Linked DNA regions of Homo sapiens: region 2 is linked to region 1. The links are contacts of gene promoters, found by promoter capture Hi-C in human tissues and cell types (Jung and others, 2019). All regions are on one chromosome and are shown on one strand. The core of a region is centred on a gene start or on the middle of the fragment in contact, and the rest is flanking DNA. Distances in the headings are between cores, read along the strand shown.

Evidence for each region. Contacts are between HindIII fragments. The study calls those that stand out against the background at their distance.
Region 2: a contact is called between a fragment that was not itself captured here and the fragment with the promoter of GPR21 in region 1, in 1 of the 25 tissues and cell types used here (aorta).

What each region holds. Positions count from the first base shown.
Region 1 is chr9:123,030,352-123,038,116 of GRCh38, reverse strand. GPR21 (G protein-coupled receptor 21) reads right to left here and starts at 4,450. Exons shown (of 2, transcript NM_005294.3): 1 at 4,375-4,450; 2 at 2,452-3,946. The coding sequence starts at 3,550. The coding sequence ends at 2,501. The region is part of intron 13 of RABGAP1 (RAB GTPase activating protein 1); the gene reads right to left. The HindIII fragment of the contact is 5,815 bases long and covers 375-6,189 here.
Region 2 is chr9:122,987,770-122,995,534 of GRCh38, reverse strand. RABGAP1 (RAB GTPase activating protein 1) reads right to left here. Exons shown (of 26, transcript NM_012197.4): 5 at 6,064-6,238; 6 at 5,322-5,479. Among named protein-coding and RNA genes, the nearest start is that of GPR21, 42 kb to the left of the region's middle. The HindIII fragment of the contact is 8,131 bases long and covers 926-7,765 here.

The DNA of each region.
Region 1 (7,765 bases), core at 3,201-5,700:
AAAAACCACTTTCACTGAAATCACTGCATTAAAAAATACAACTAGTTTACAAATATAACATCAGTATAATCCTACTTTAAAATTTACTATGAAATAATTTCAACATAATCACCAAAAGTATATGTTTCCTCTGATACCAGTCACATGCCATATAAAGTTAAATGAGCTATCCCGCCAACGCCATGGTAACTGAATCTAAAAATACATTTTTTTTGAAGTCAGACTGGTATTTAAACTAAATGTCATCAAATGTTGCATTAAATATGCCAGGATGAAAAGTTCAGTTAAACATGAACTTTCCAAATATATCACACAGAAAACACCCCCAGCCACTAAAGGGGACACTACTGTGTCCAGGAGCATCTCCTCTCTCCCAACACATACACACACAACAAAATAAGATCAAACCTGCTGATTTAATATCAATTTTTCAACAAAAATTAAGTGTTTAAAATTGCCATATTTTCTAAACTAAAAATTCATAAGCAAACTGCAAATGTGAACAGGTTACATTCTCTAACATGTATGAAAAAAGGTAAATTTTGGTTTTTTAGATCTGTACCACTTAAAGGGAAAATGTATACAATACAACCATTTTTCAGAATCTAACAGAAAAGGTTTCCCATTTGAAATGGCAATTTAACCAAGCCATTTCTAACATAACTTGCAATTTCAGTATGAGTTCTAAATTTTGAAGCAGCTTAGAATAAAATTTGCTAACACTAAACATAAAGAGCAAGCAAGGTTTTGGGAAAAACCCAGAATCTGAAGTTTGAATGTTTATGTAATGCTTAGTCACTTAAAATAAAAAAGTTTAAATAGAACACAACTGAGGTTAAAATCAAGTTGATGTCTAAAGCCTAAAATCATAAGAACACTGGCATCATGATGGAAAACCAAAGCTTATCTGCCTGCTTTATAAATATCCATGTCCTTTCTTGGATTCAGAAATCCACTTTAACCCATGTCCCCTGGGTTTCTTCCATCTTCCATCTCACTGAACACCACTGTCGCATTCAGATTACAACCTCTAGCCAAAGGCAGAGATCAAGTAAGTCCCTTGAAGACTTCCAGAACATTTCCAGAACAGCAGAAAAGTAGAGGAAATACTCTCGTGCCTGGAGCTGCCGGAATTCCTTCTCTCCTTTTAGAAAAATAAACCTCTTGCTCTAAAGATAATCACTTTTAAGAACAAACATCACTACTACATACAAACACACATAACTCTCAATAATAATTCTATAGAAGAATTATAAAATCCTATAGGTTTTTCTAGTACTTTGGCAGGAAAAAAAAAAAAGACCATTAAGAACTGTATGCCAAAGGATTTTTTTTCCAGAGAGAAAATAGCAATAAGAGACTTAAGTGTTTTCCCTTCTCCTCTTCAAATGTGGATTCCTTAGCACTAACTGAAAGAATACTTTTCAAAAATAACTAGTTGATTCCATTTAACCACAAAGAAAATGTCTCAACTACCTTGTATTTTAAAAAAACAATCTGTATACTACGGTATACTTTCTGACTCAGTTGCTTATGACCGACACCCTTCTCCCTGATGTTCTAATATTTCAGAAGTCTTTGAATAGAAAGAACAGACAATATTAAAGACACATTTTTGTATATAGTCACCATTATAAAATGGACAGCCAACAGCCTATCACTGAATTACTTTTTAGCTTAAGCACATTTTGCTGTAAAAGAGAAATCTAACAATTCAGATATTCTAAATATAGACATAACACAAAGGCATGGGCAAAAGTACTACACGATTACTTCTACGCACACATATCTTTAGATCTCTGTGAAGCATGGCACAAAAAGTAGCTCAGTTTTTCATAAATTGTATAATTTGATTGCACTTTTGCTTCATGGTTCACTGTAAAATTCTAAAATTAATGTTTATGTGTTCACATTATTCACCCTACTGAGAATTCTCTCAAGAGAATAAAACACAGAACATTTGGCTTTCTAAATGACAGTGTTGAAACTTGCAGTGTAGTTATGCTTTGGCATACATAAAAAGTAATTTCTAAAACCTTTTCATTTATATTTTACTATTCCGTTAGAAGAAATCAATTGCATATGAAGCCCAAATAGCTGGAAAGAGCCCAGAAAGTGACAAGAAAGTGATGACTTTTTAAAATGCTGACGCTTTTCACACTCAGGTTCAGTCATGCCAGCTGGAAAGAGGTGTTAGATATGGCTTTATTCATTTTAAATCTGAGAACTGTAGTCATTTCCAAGACATTTCAAAAATTGAGAGCAAGAGCAATTTGTCTTCATGATCTTGAGTCTTCTAATTCACAAGCACTTTTGAAAACCATTTCTACAAACTTAGAAGGTATCCATACGAATAATTTGTATGCTATTGTTTAGAGTCAAAGTATTCTGTCCCAGATTTCCTAGTGAATTAGGAATACTTAGAGATAAAATACACACACACACACACACACACACACACACACACACACACACACGGGAACCCCGTAACTGAGCCACTTCAGATATGACATCCATTAAGAGGGCCTTTGCTTCTAACTGTGTAAGGGTCGTTGGCTGTAGTCTGACTTGCACAAGAAGTACACATAGCCCCTGAGAGGCGCTTTAGTCCTCTTTGGAATACACTGTTGGAGAGACTATAAATTACACAGTTGCAGAAACTGTTACTAATAGCAAGCCAGGTGGTCAAGAAGGATGCGAAGCGGTTGCTGTGGCCAGTGGAGCTTTCCAACAAGAAGTAGATGATATATGGCAACCAGAGGATGTAAAATACACTAGTGATTCGAAACAGGACCATGGCATAGCGCTTATCAGGACAGGCCTGCACTTCCCCAGTCTCCCCACTCTGGCTGCTGAAGCGGGCTTGCCTTTCGCTGATATCCTTTGTGTGCTGTTGGCAGATGCGGAAGATGTTGAAATAGGTGAAGCAGACAATAAGGGCTGCTGGGGCATATAACATCATCACGATGAACAGGGTGAAGTAGGAGTCGGTGTGCCAGGACTCCGCACACCACTGAAACACATCTCCATGATATCCAGGTTTGCCCCAGTGGAAAAAGGAAGGCAGGAAGACCAGGGTCGAGTATAGCCAAATCAGGAAAATACACAGGCGTAGTCTCCAGGGTGTAACCAGAGTATTATAGGTTAAAGGTTTAGTAATGGCAATGTATCTATCAATGCTGATACAGGCCAGAGAAGCCATGGAGACGCTCTTCAGAACTGATACTACAAAACCAAATATCTGGCAAGTCAAGGACTCCTCTACTGGAAGGGGGTGATGGAGGAGTGATAAAGAAGGGACCACGCAGCTCACCCCAACAAAAAGGTCAGCATATGCCATAGTCTGGATAAAATAACTTGTAGTGTGATGGTTCAACAAAGGTGCACAGTGAAATACAAAAATCACAATGATGTTGCCAGAAATAATCAATACAGTTAGAAAGACAATAATCAATACTTCCAAAAGGCAAAAATTGACAGTTTCCAAATAGCCAAATGCCAAGAGGCAAAAAGGGTGGCTGCTCTGATTACCATCCAAGGTGGAGTTCATCTTGAGCTCAGGAGTGATCTGTCACTTCATGCTGCCGCTTGGCTGCTGCCAACAGTTCAAAGAAGCAGCTGCTGTCATTGCGGTCAGCTTTGCATGTGTGTAATAATGCCAGAGGAGCCTTACTCCCCAAGCTCCTGATGCTGCTGCTCTGGTGCATTGCCTGCAGTGCAATTCCCCTTTAAATCCTTCCTGGAATAAGGAGAGCCAGCAGCAGTTGTCTGGCCAGTCCCAGACGCGGCCATAGTGCCAGGTTCACCATACACATAGCACCAGGGGAGCAAGGTAAACTCTGGGGAGAACGTCTTCAGGCCAAGTGAGGGTAGGGGGAAAGGGTAGAAGAGAAGGGAAGAAGATTAGGAGCTTCAGCAGGAGTTGTAATGAGTCTCCTCTGAACAGCTGATAGAAGAAAAGGAGAGAGCATTTTACATTTCACATCCAATGCCCTAATCAAAGAACCTGGCTAGCTCAGGCTGGCATCATCCCTCCCGCTCCACCCCTACTGGCACCACTATTCACGGCTACCCTCAATAGCACCCCACACAACTGATCTGTACTGTATAGAGGAGCAGCAGCAACATCAAGCTTTCAAGATCAGCATAAAACAAAACCAATCACAGTCAGATTAATTTACCCCCATTTCCTTTCATTTGAGACGGGGGAGAAAAGGAATTTGCTTATAATATTTAGGAAAACCTTTCACTACAATTACCACTAATAAAATTAGCCAAGATAATTTACTTTCTTCATTGATTCCAATATAATATTTTGCCTCTTTGAAAACATTTCAACAGAATTTACTGTTTAGTTCAATTTCAGAATGTTACCTGTAATTCTGCATGCTGCAATCCAAACAAAAGCCACAATACATCCTTAGCAGAAAGCCTTGCAAAGCAGGAATGTGCTTCAACCCGCGTACTGCAGAACTAAGACACGGAGGGAGGAGATAAAGGAGTAGGAGGGGAAACAGGGAGAAGAGGGGGCTTGGGAAAAGGAAGAAAGGGGGAGGGGAAAGAAAAAGCCTGTACGTGCACACACTCTGGCATCTTTAGCAACTAATTGGAATTCATCGTCAGAGAGGTGCCCCGATTTCCAGACTGCACAGTGTGGGAATGGCTTGCTATGCCTGCAGTGCACCATTTGAAGGCTGTTTCCTCGTCTGTCTGGAATCCCCCTTTTAGTAGATAAGCAGAATTCAGGGTGCTAGCAAGGAGAAGGGGTAGTAACAGAACAGGGTGTCAGGAATTAGACTGAAACACACTACCAGAGGGGTAATTTCTATTTTCTCACGGCATTTTCCCAAAGAACAAAGAGCAATATTAAAGAAAGGAAGTATGTTAACTTCCTTTAAGTGTATGGCGTATGGCAACTGAGAATCATAATTCAGCTGCACAAGAAGTTCTAGCTAGAAGGCTATTCACCATTAATTTTGTCTCTCATGATTCACTGAATATTGGCCAAGAAACTTTAAGATCACTTTTTCAAGAGAAAAATAAAGTATCTCCCATTCTGAATACTACACAAATAGCACAGATAAATTACACTGTTCCCATATTTGACACTACGCTATAATTTTGAGATGCATTTCTTGCTTCTAATTTGCTGAGCAGTAAACAAGAATACAAACAGAAGATAGAAAAGTAAATGTACCTTCTTCTACTCAGGCATGGATATTACAGGAAGTTTCATGGTACAAATAAGCCTTTGTATCTTAGAATATACAATCTTGCTTCTGCCTATTTAAAACAATGCAAACTGTATCATATTATATTGTGGTTTTCCTGGTAATGTCATAAATGATGACAATTTTCAGCTAACAGAGTTGGGTGCTATGAAAATGTGTAATTTTAGTATCTTTATTTAGAAGGATTAATTGAAAGTATCCAGCAGAATAAAAGACAATAAACAAATGCCGGCATTTGAAAGCATTCCAAGAGGTAGGCAACTGAGTAAAAACATGTGATCCAACTTTCATTTTTATTCATTTTATACACATGCTTTCTAATTACAGACAAATGGCCACCCATAATCAGAATGCGATGAATTACATTTTAAATCTGAAGCAGCAGCAGTTGTCTGGCCAGTCCCAGACGCGGCCATAGCCCCAAAATAAAAAACCTATTTAACCGTAATCCTGATAGTAATATTTGACAGGTCTTATTGGGAAACAGAGCGAAGTGTGTGGCACAGTAAAAAGACCAATAGCATCGAAGGAACAATAATCAGGTTCAAATTCTTGCTCTAATATTACTTATCCTCTCTTAAGCCTCTGTTTCATCATCTGTAAAATGAGAACAACACTCCTTACTTCACAGGGTTGTTGAGAAATAAAGTATATAAAAAAGGCTTACCAACACCTAGCACAGAGGGGGTATATAACTTTACTCACTTTCTGCTCCTACAACTAAAGTAGCCTTCCTTAAGAGCCAGTGTTTTCCTGCCCATCATGTTGAAATGCTTAAGGCTGGGCTCCTCTGAATCCTGAAGGGCCTGCTCTTACTGAGGCTATACAGTTCTAGGTCATACAACAGCTATCTGAATACAGTGCTGTCACACATTACTCAAATACATTGAGGCTATGCATATACAAAGCACTGAAGGTAGCTGAAAAGAAGGAATGATGACATGGCGTCAATTATTCCCTCAACATAAATAATTTCTCTGCCTAGGTCTCCAGCCCTGACTTCACTCCTAAGCTCCCTTTTCCATCTACAATTTGCCTGCTAGTCACACATTTTCCACCAGTAGATGGAAGATGTCCTGTAGATGTCCTGTAGAGATTTCAACCACAGCATGTCTAAAATCAAAAACCTTTTTCCCACCAAATAAGCCTCTGTATTTTTCCAACATTTTCCCAGGCACTCCGGTATGAAACTTAGGAATCAATCACCTTGACCACTCTCTCCCTCAAAGCACTTAGTTCTGAGTCACCAAGTCCTGAAAATGTATTTCCACAATAGTTCTCAAATGCATTTCCTCCTTTCAATTTTTAATACACTTACCATAGAAGATGATTACCACCTAAACTTACAGTTTTGTTCATTTTTCTAATTTTTTCTTTTCTGTCTGGTTAAATATCCAAAATGTACATTTTATTATTGTACCCCATTGTTCAAGAGTCAATGGCTCCTTTACTGCCTTTCTAGTCTGATCTCAACTGTTTTACTTCCCCCAAATAACCTGCCCTCCAGCCAAATCAGATTACTTCTATACACTTGCCATAGACTTTATTTTTAAACCATATTTACTGAGCACCTTAATAAATACGGAATAAAGGAGTGATTTTTGAGAGTTACTGCTGTATTTCAATAAACAGAAAAAGTGTTCACCAAAGTCAAAAGTCTAGGCTTTTCTACTACTACTTGTGAATTTGGGCATGAAACTTATTCTCTCTGTGGTTTCCCATGTATAAAACAAGACAGTTACGCTGATAAAAACAGACAATACAATGGCTGAAAATTTGAAAGAATTCAAAATTTATAAAATTGCAACAAAACTACAAGCTGTTACATTACTGCCATTAGTACAGTAACAGTTCTTTCAACTTTGTTTCTATTTTAGTGAAACCACTCTAGGAGCTAAAATCAAAATATTCATTTAAGAAACTTTAAAAAAAAAAGACTAATAGCCACATTTAACTGAATCAATCAGGAATTAAATGTTTTGCTTTGGATTAAAGAAAAACATTTTCTTCAAAAGACACAATTTATTAACAACTTGGGGAGGCTCTATAAATTTGTATCCTTACAGAAATCCACATGTACATTTGGTCTTTAACCATAACATAGACTCATTCTAGTGTTCCATACCACTCTAGGAAGACTATAGTTAATACTATGTAGTTTCAAATAGCTAGAAGGAGGTTACTGAATGTTCCCAACACAGAGAAATGATAAATGTTGATAAATGTTAGAGATGATGGGTATGTGCACAATTACCATGATCTGATCAGTATATACTATATGTATCAAAACATCCTTATATACCTCATAAGTATGTATGTTATATGCTGATTAAAAAATACAATAAAAAATAAAATAATGCAGTCTCATGATATATTCTCTCTATATTTACTTTGAAGGCTGAGTAACTTTCTATATATATATGACTAAAAGGAAATACATTAAAAATCAACACTATTATTGGATGGTGGGATAACATTCATTAAAAAATCTTTCTTCTTTATAGCTTTCTATATTTTCTGAATTTTCCAATTTC
Region 2 (7,765 bases), core at 3,742-6,241, 43 kb after region 1:
ATTTATAAAGCTAAAAAAATCACTCCTATGCCCCCTAAAACATAACCTTAATTTTCTCTTTTGTTGCTGTAAAGCATGTTTCATGGCATCTGACATACAGAACTCAAAAAAAGTAAGTATTCTTTCCTTTATATTTATCACTGGGCTTTACAGATAGATTATTATCACCTTCTTTGCTTAAACATATAATGAAGAAAAAGATACTTAATCATAGATCTTTTGAGTTTCAAAGCAAGGTATCTTTAAAAAGTAATAGAAATGAGGAAGATATGGCCAATAAGCTGTTGTCCAACACTTCCCTTAAGCACTGTTAACTTTATTATAAACCAGTGTAATAATTATAAAATACTAACTAGTGATAAGGTTAATAAACATCAGCTTAATTAAAAAGGTAAAAATATTCTTTTTCTTTTTTTGAGGCAGGATCTTGATCTGTCACCCAGGTTGCAGCACAGTGGCACAATCTCATAGTTCACTACAGCCTCAAACTCCTGGGCTCAAGCTATCTTCCTGCCTCAACCTCCAGGATACCTAGGATTACAGGTACATGCCACCATGCCTAGCTAATTTTTTAAATTTTTGGTAGAGATGGATCTTGCTATGTTGCCCAGGCTGGTCTCGAACTCATGGGCTCAAGCAATCCTCCCACCTCAGCCTCCCCAAGTGCTGGGATTACAGATGTGAGCCACAGCAAAGTTCTTAAAATGACAGTTTAACAAAATAATCCCCTGTTCTCCCACACACCACTTTCTCTAGCTCACTGTTCTCAAAGGTAAACATCTGTCCATGGCCATCAGCCAATATGCAAAAAATCTAAATTGTATCTTATTTCTGTACAACTTTAAGATAATGGCAATAGAACCATTAGTAGCTACCGTAAATGGCTAGATAAAAGCTCTGAACACCTACTCAAACTTAAAGGTAGCCCTAAAGAAATACTAATTTGAAGCCCTTCTGCACTTTATTACTATTTATACTAATTCAAGAACATTTTTGAATACTTCCATTAGAAAATCAAAGAATCTTAGCAAAGAACTCTAAAAATGTCAAAAATGTTCAAAGAAAATTTTTGCATATCAAACTGTTAAATATTTGTGACAGAGTTTTCACCTATAAGGAAATGGAAGGGTCTCAATTTTCAACTTGTAATAGATACACTGGTCTCTATGTTCTTTGGATGCTCAAGTAAATATAATCCCATTGTTTAGCAGTTTAAAACAACAACAATAGACAGAAAGTTGTCTCTGGTGTTCTGAATCTACAGGGATGCAGTAACAGGAAGCAGAATGGAGAGTGTAATCAGTGGGTGTTCACCTCACTGAATGTCAGGGTCCTAGATCATATTTCTGGTCTAATAACTACATCATGTGAATGTATCCAAGTAGGGAATTTAGTATTTAATTTCTATTGTATAAAATAAGAAACTGAAGTACAGGCTTAATTTCCCTGGCTTTACCTATAAATAAGCACAGTATAAACTACCCAATTTATCTCATGAGGACGGTTAGTGGATTAAGTAAAACAAAAAAGAAGTGTCTTGAATGGTACTTTGAATGAAAATGCTCAATTTAGGTCGGGCACGGTGGCTCATGCTTGGAATCCCAGCACTATGGGAGGCCGAGGCAGGTGGATCATTTGAGGTCAGGAGTTTGAGACCAGCCTGGCCAACATGGTAAAACCCTGTCTCTATTGAAAATACAAAAATTAGCCGGGCGTGGCAGCACATGTCTGTAATCCCAGCTACTTAGGAGGCTGAGGCAGGAGAATCACTTGAACCTGGGAGGCAGAGGTTGCAGTGAGCCGAGACTGCGCCACTGTACGCCAGCGTGGGTGACAGAGCGAGACTCCGTCTCAAAAAGAAAAAAAAGTGTGAGACCCTGTCTCAACAACAAACAAACAAATGCTCAGTTTTCCCATGGGCAAAATGGAGAAGCAGGTTTCTAATCATAATAATTTAAAAATTGGCCAGGCATGGTGGCTCACGCCTGTAATCCCAGCAATTTGGGAGGCTGAGGCAGGTGGATCACCTGAGGTCAGGAGTTCGAGACCAGCCTGGCCAACATGGTGAAACCCCGTCTCTACTAAAAGTACAAAAAGTAGCCAGGCGTGGCGGTGGGCACCTATAATTCCAGCTACTCGGGAGGTTGAAGCAGTAGAATCACTTGAACCCGGGAGAAGGAGGTTGCAATGAGCCAAGATCACGCCATTGCACTCCAGCCTGAGTGACAAGAGGAAAAACTCCGTCTCAAAATAATAATAATAATAATTTAAAAATTATACTTTTTCAGAAATGAGAAGAGCATTAATTATTCTCATCATACTTTGTCTATATTTATGTTAAAGTAAAACCACAGTAAATCTTGTGTTATACACAAATATGAGTTGGACAGGGGATAAGTAATATCCATAAACCAACATGTTTTAGTACTCTATTCAACACTTAATTTCTACTTTTAAAATTTGCTATTAATATTATACACAGTATGTTGGAGAACATTCATAATAATAATTCTTTGAAAACCTCAATGATTATTTCTGCAGATAAATTTCCATACATATTACAGAATTACTGGATAAGAGGAACTACCTTTGACAAGTTTAAATCTGACAAACCAAGGTATATTTTGCTAGGATTTCATACATCTAAAGTACTGTTGTGTTAACCTAATATATTTAGGTATAATAATTATTTTGGTATAATAATTATTTAGGTATAATATTTAGATAAAATAAATATTTAGGTATAATAGTAAGTATATAATAGGTTTTATATAATAATAGGTATATAACTATTACATAATTTATATGTATAATATATAATTATTATTATACCTAAATAATATATATTAACCTAATATATTTAGGTATATTGATCATTATACTTAAATAATATATTTAAGTTAACATAACAGTATTTATTATAAACCAGAAATTCAGCAAAGCCATGTAGCAAAAGGAGAACAAAGTCCTAACAAATGTGAAAAGCAAATCTGACCATCCAGGGATTTTCTGTAATAGCACTTTGTCAGTATTAACAAATAGAACAGAGATGTTTATGATCATTCTACCTTGAATATGCCTGATTTCAGAAGGAAGGGAAGTTATACTGATACTTCTGAGGGATCTTAATCTTTCCTATTTAATAATTAGAATTTACAGACCAAAACTACATAAATATTTTCAATAAAGAAAAAAAGGCCAGGCATGGTGAATCATGCCTATAATCCCAGCACTCTGGGAGGCCCAGGTAAATGGATCACTTGAGGCCGGGAGTTTGAGACCAGCCTGGCCAACACGGCGAAACCCTGTCTCTACTGAAAAATAGAAAAAATTAGCCCGGTATGGTGGCAGATGCTTGTAATCCCAGCTACTCAGGAGGCTGAGGCATGAGAATTGCTTGAACCTGGGAGACAGAGGTTGCGGTGAACCGTGATCGTGCCACTACATTCCAGCCTTGGTGACAGAGCAAGGCTCTGTCTCAAAAAAAAAAGAAAGAAAATATATTTAGTTTAAAGGTTGCTTAACAAGGTAAAAAACTACTTAAAATTATACAGATTATAATTTTCACTTTGCAGGGCAGGAAGGTACATTGCAGGAAGGACTACCTCACAGCATTGCTTTGAGAATAGAAATAGTCAGGAATGGTTGGCTCATGCCTGTAATCCCAACACTTTGACAAGCTGAGACTATCACTTGAGACCACGAGTTCAAGACCAACCTGGGCAATGTGGCAAGACCCCATCTCTAGAAAAACTTAAAAAAAAATTAGCCAGACATAGTGGCATGCATCCGTGGTCCCAGCTACTCAGGAGGGCGAGGTGGGAGGACTGCTTGAGACCAGAAGGCTGAGGCTGCAGTGAGTCATGTTTGTACCATTGCATTCAAGCCTGAGCAACAGCGTGAGGCGTATCTCAAAAAAAAAAAAAAAAGAGAGAGAGAGAATAGAAATCTATCTAATTAGAAAGCATAGAGCACAATGAGTCATACTTTACTCCTCAAAGTTTAAGCTGCACTGTACACTAAATTGGCCACCAGATGGCATGACAATTCCAAAGTCTGAAGAAAGACTAAAAATTATCAGTTTTTCTAATAATCTAATAAACCAATCACTGTGCTTAATTTAAAAGCAAAATATTAGAAATATTCATATTTTTATATAACTTCATTTTACCAATTTAATGAGGTAGTCATGGAGGAAACAGACTTCTACATGCAATTACTGATTATAATACAATCATTTTGGGACATGGGCTGTAATTTTAAAAACATCAAGTCATCTTGCAACCATAAAATTTTAAAGTGAGAAAGGGTTTTAGAGTCTAGCCACCTCATTTAATAAATGAGGAAACTACTGACAGATGTAAAGAAACTTGGAAATGGGGACACTGTTAATAGTAACAATAATTAAACTAAAGCTAAGTTTTGACTTCTATTCCATGGTTCTTTCCACCACTCAAAGGATTATCATTATATTTAAAAATTAAAATCAGTCACTTCTAACCCTACAAAAGATTAGACTTCAGACACAGACCTTATTTCTCCCCTTCCAATGTATGCAGATAACTTTACTGGGAAAACTTGACTTGAAAAGGCTTAAGATTTTTAGATTATTAATATAAGTAAATCAACCAACTAAAACAAGCAAATACAATCAGCAAAACAAATATAGCTACAAATCCAGCTGACTAAGCTTTGGCCATATATATATATATATATATATATATATATATATATATATTTTTTTTTTTTTTTTTTTTTTTTTTTTGAGACGGAGTTTCGTTCTCGTTGCCCAGGCTGGAGTGCAGTGGCAGGATCTCGGCTCACTGCAACCTCTGCCTGCCGGGTTCAAGCGATTCTCCTGCCTCAGCCTCCCAAGTAGCTGGGATTACAGGCACCCACCACCACGCCCGGCTAATTTTGTATTTTTAGTAGAGACAAGGTTTCTCCATGTTGGTCAGGCTCATCTCGAACTCCCGACCTCAGGTGATCCGTCCGCCTCAGCCACCCAAAGAGCTGGGATTACAGGTGTGAGCCACAGCGCCTGGCGGTTTGGCCATATTTTTGTGAGCAGTTAGCCACTTGGTATCTGACTAAAAGAAGGTAGCAACATGTTCCCAATATGACAATTTTTTTAATTGCTTTAAAATTCTTCAAACTTTGCCTCTGTTAAATTTATGTATTTATATGCCTTTATCATCCAGATTTTTTTTAAAAGCCCTCCCTTTAAAAGCCATCATTTTATGGTATGAAAGTTATAATCTGACCTAGAATTTCCCCTGAACCACAGCATGTTAATACATGAATAAAATAAGATTCCCTACCTAAAATAACCTTTACCATCATCTTCTTTTATTTCTAAAGACACAGAGAAGGTAAAGATGTCACTGTCAGGAGTCTGGGGTGCAGCAGTGGCTGAAAGTGGGGTCTGCTTGGCAGAACGGCGGAAGGCAGTGGCAAAACTGTAAAGTATCCGGCTTACCTACAACCAGACATGTTAGGAAATGGGCTGTTATCAAAAGATATAAAATACCTTTATTAAGGCTGGAAGATTACCTACTTTGGAGGGCAATAATTATCTTTATCCCACTTATTTCTTTTGGTAAATTACCTAATTTGTTAGGCCTATAAAGCAAGCAACACTAAAAATGTCCAGACAAGGGGTTTTAAAAAAGAAATGGTTGTAAGCACTATAAATCCAATTTAAAAATCACTTCCTAAATTGTTAGAAACTATCTGAAGATATTACAATGAAAACAGTCCTAACAAGTTTTGATTTAAAAGAATGGTTTGCAAATCTGTCAATGTTAGAACCAGAATGCCTACTTAACCCAATCAAAAGTAGCCAACAGATCTCCTCTGACATTCTTAGTAGTAGTAACAAAGTTCTAGTTAATCAAATTTTTAGTTAATTTATATTTTGGCCCATGAGGCTAGAATCACTAAAACAATAGCAGAGAATTTCATCTGGCTTATGAGTGATCATAATAAATACCATAATCATTTCAACCTAGTGAGGGCACTGGTGAAGTTTCATTTGCAGAGAGTTTTCTCTTGAGGACTTACAGCTTCTTGTATTTCACACCGGAAGACGTGTATTCTGAAGAGCTCTGCATTGTAATGACTTTCAGTGAAAGCAAAACAGTCACTCTCAGGAGTTCCATCATGCCCTCTGACACAGAAGAGGATTTTGTAGATAGGGTAGTTTGCTATTTCAGTGTTTGTCTGAGGATCTAAGAGTCTGTTCAGAGAAAAAGATACAGAGAGATTACAGGAATTATGAACAATCTGCACTACGTTTAGATTAAGATGTGAGACTCATTCTTTCTAGTAAGAAGATCATATATTTGGTATGCTGATATTAACCTTAAATTTTAATAAGTAACTCATATGTGAATTCCGGAAGCTATTGATTACGTAATTCCATAGTACTAAAAACCATATAGTATCATGTTTTAGGGAGGCAAACAGAAAGGTATAAACAATATCAATAAGCACATTTCTTATACAGTCTGCTACAAAATAAAGACGATTAATACGTAAATTAGACTACCAAAATACATCATTGAAGCTGTGCTTTTTTTTTTTTTTTTTTGAGACAAGTTTCGCTCTTGTTGCCCAGGCTGGAGTGCAATGGCGCAATCTCAGCTCACCGCAACCTCCGCCTCCTGGGTTCAAGTGATTCTCCTGCCTCAGCCTCCCAAGTAGCTGGGATTACAGGGATGTGCCACCATGCCCGGCTAATTTTTTGTATTTTTAGTAGAGACAGGGCAGGTTAGCCAGAATGGTCTCAATCTTCCGACCTCAGGTGATCCGCCCACCTAGGCCTCCCAAAGTGCTGGGATTACAGGCATAAGCCACCACACCTGGGCAAAGCTGTGCTTCTAATTATCTCCTTTAAAAATGACCTAATCTGTTATGAAAAAATAAAAAACAAAAAACTGATGCTTTTTCTCAGACTGAAACAAGTTTTTTTTTGATTCATGGAAAATAAGGACAGAAATTATACAAAATGTTAACTCCTCAAAAAAAAAAAAATCATGAATAAAAGCAAAAGGATGCCATTCAGTAAAAAATCAAAGGGATAGCATTCATTCAAAAATCTACTTATTCAACAAATATTTATGTGATACCTACAACATTCCAGACTCTGATCAGGGCAGTAAGGCACAACTATGGAAGGTCTAAAAAGAAACTATGCAATTTCAACACTATGTGGGTAGAGCCATTAATGGGAAAGCCTAGAAGGCCTTGCTCATCACGGAAATACCTAGGAAGAGGATCTAACACAGGTTTGAAAGCACTTTTATGAAAACTCTAAAAATGTGGGGTAAAACCGACTAGCTTTCTAACTTCTTTTATAGAATTAAAAATATATTAAAGTCTAACTTCAGTTAGAGGAATGAGTATTGACTAAGAAACATATAGAAATGAGTGCTAAACACATTTTATTAATAGTTTATCATTAATAAATAGAATTTGTGAGTCTTTGCAAAATAGTTATTTAAATACTTAAGGGGAAAAATTACATATACAGATTATTTTACTACAATCAACACACAGCTATTACTCTGTCACCATGAAAGTCCAAAATACTTCTGAGGATACTGAGAAATGGATATTCTATATACTGCTGATAAAAGTATAAACTAGATCAATATTTCTAGATGGCTAGTTGGCAATGTTATTAGAAGCAATAAAAATAGACAAACTCAATAAGTTTACTTCTAGGAATTTATCCTAAGGAAATCAACAGAAGTCTAAAAAG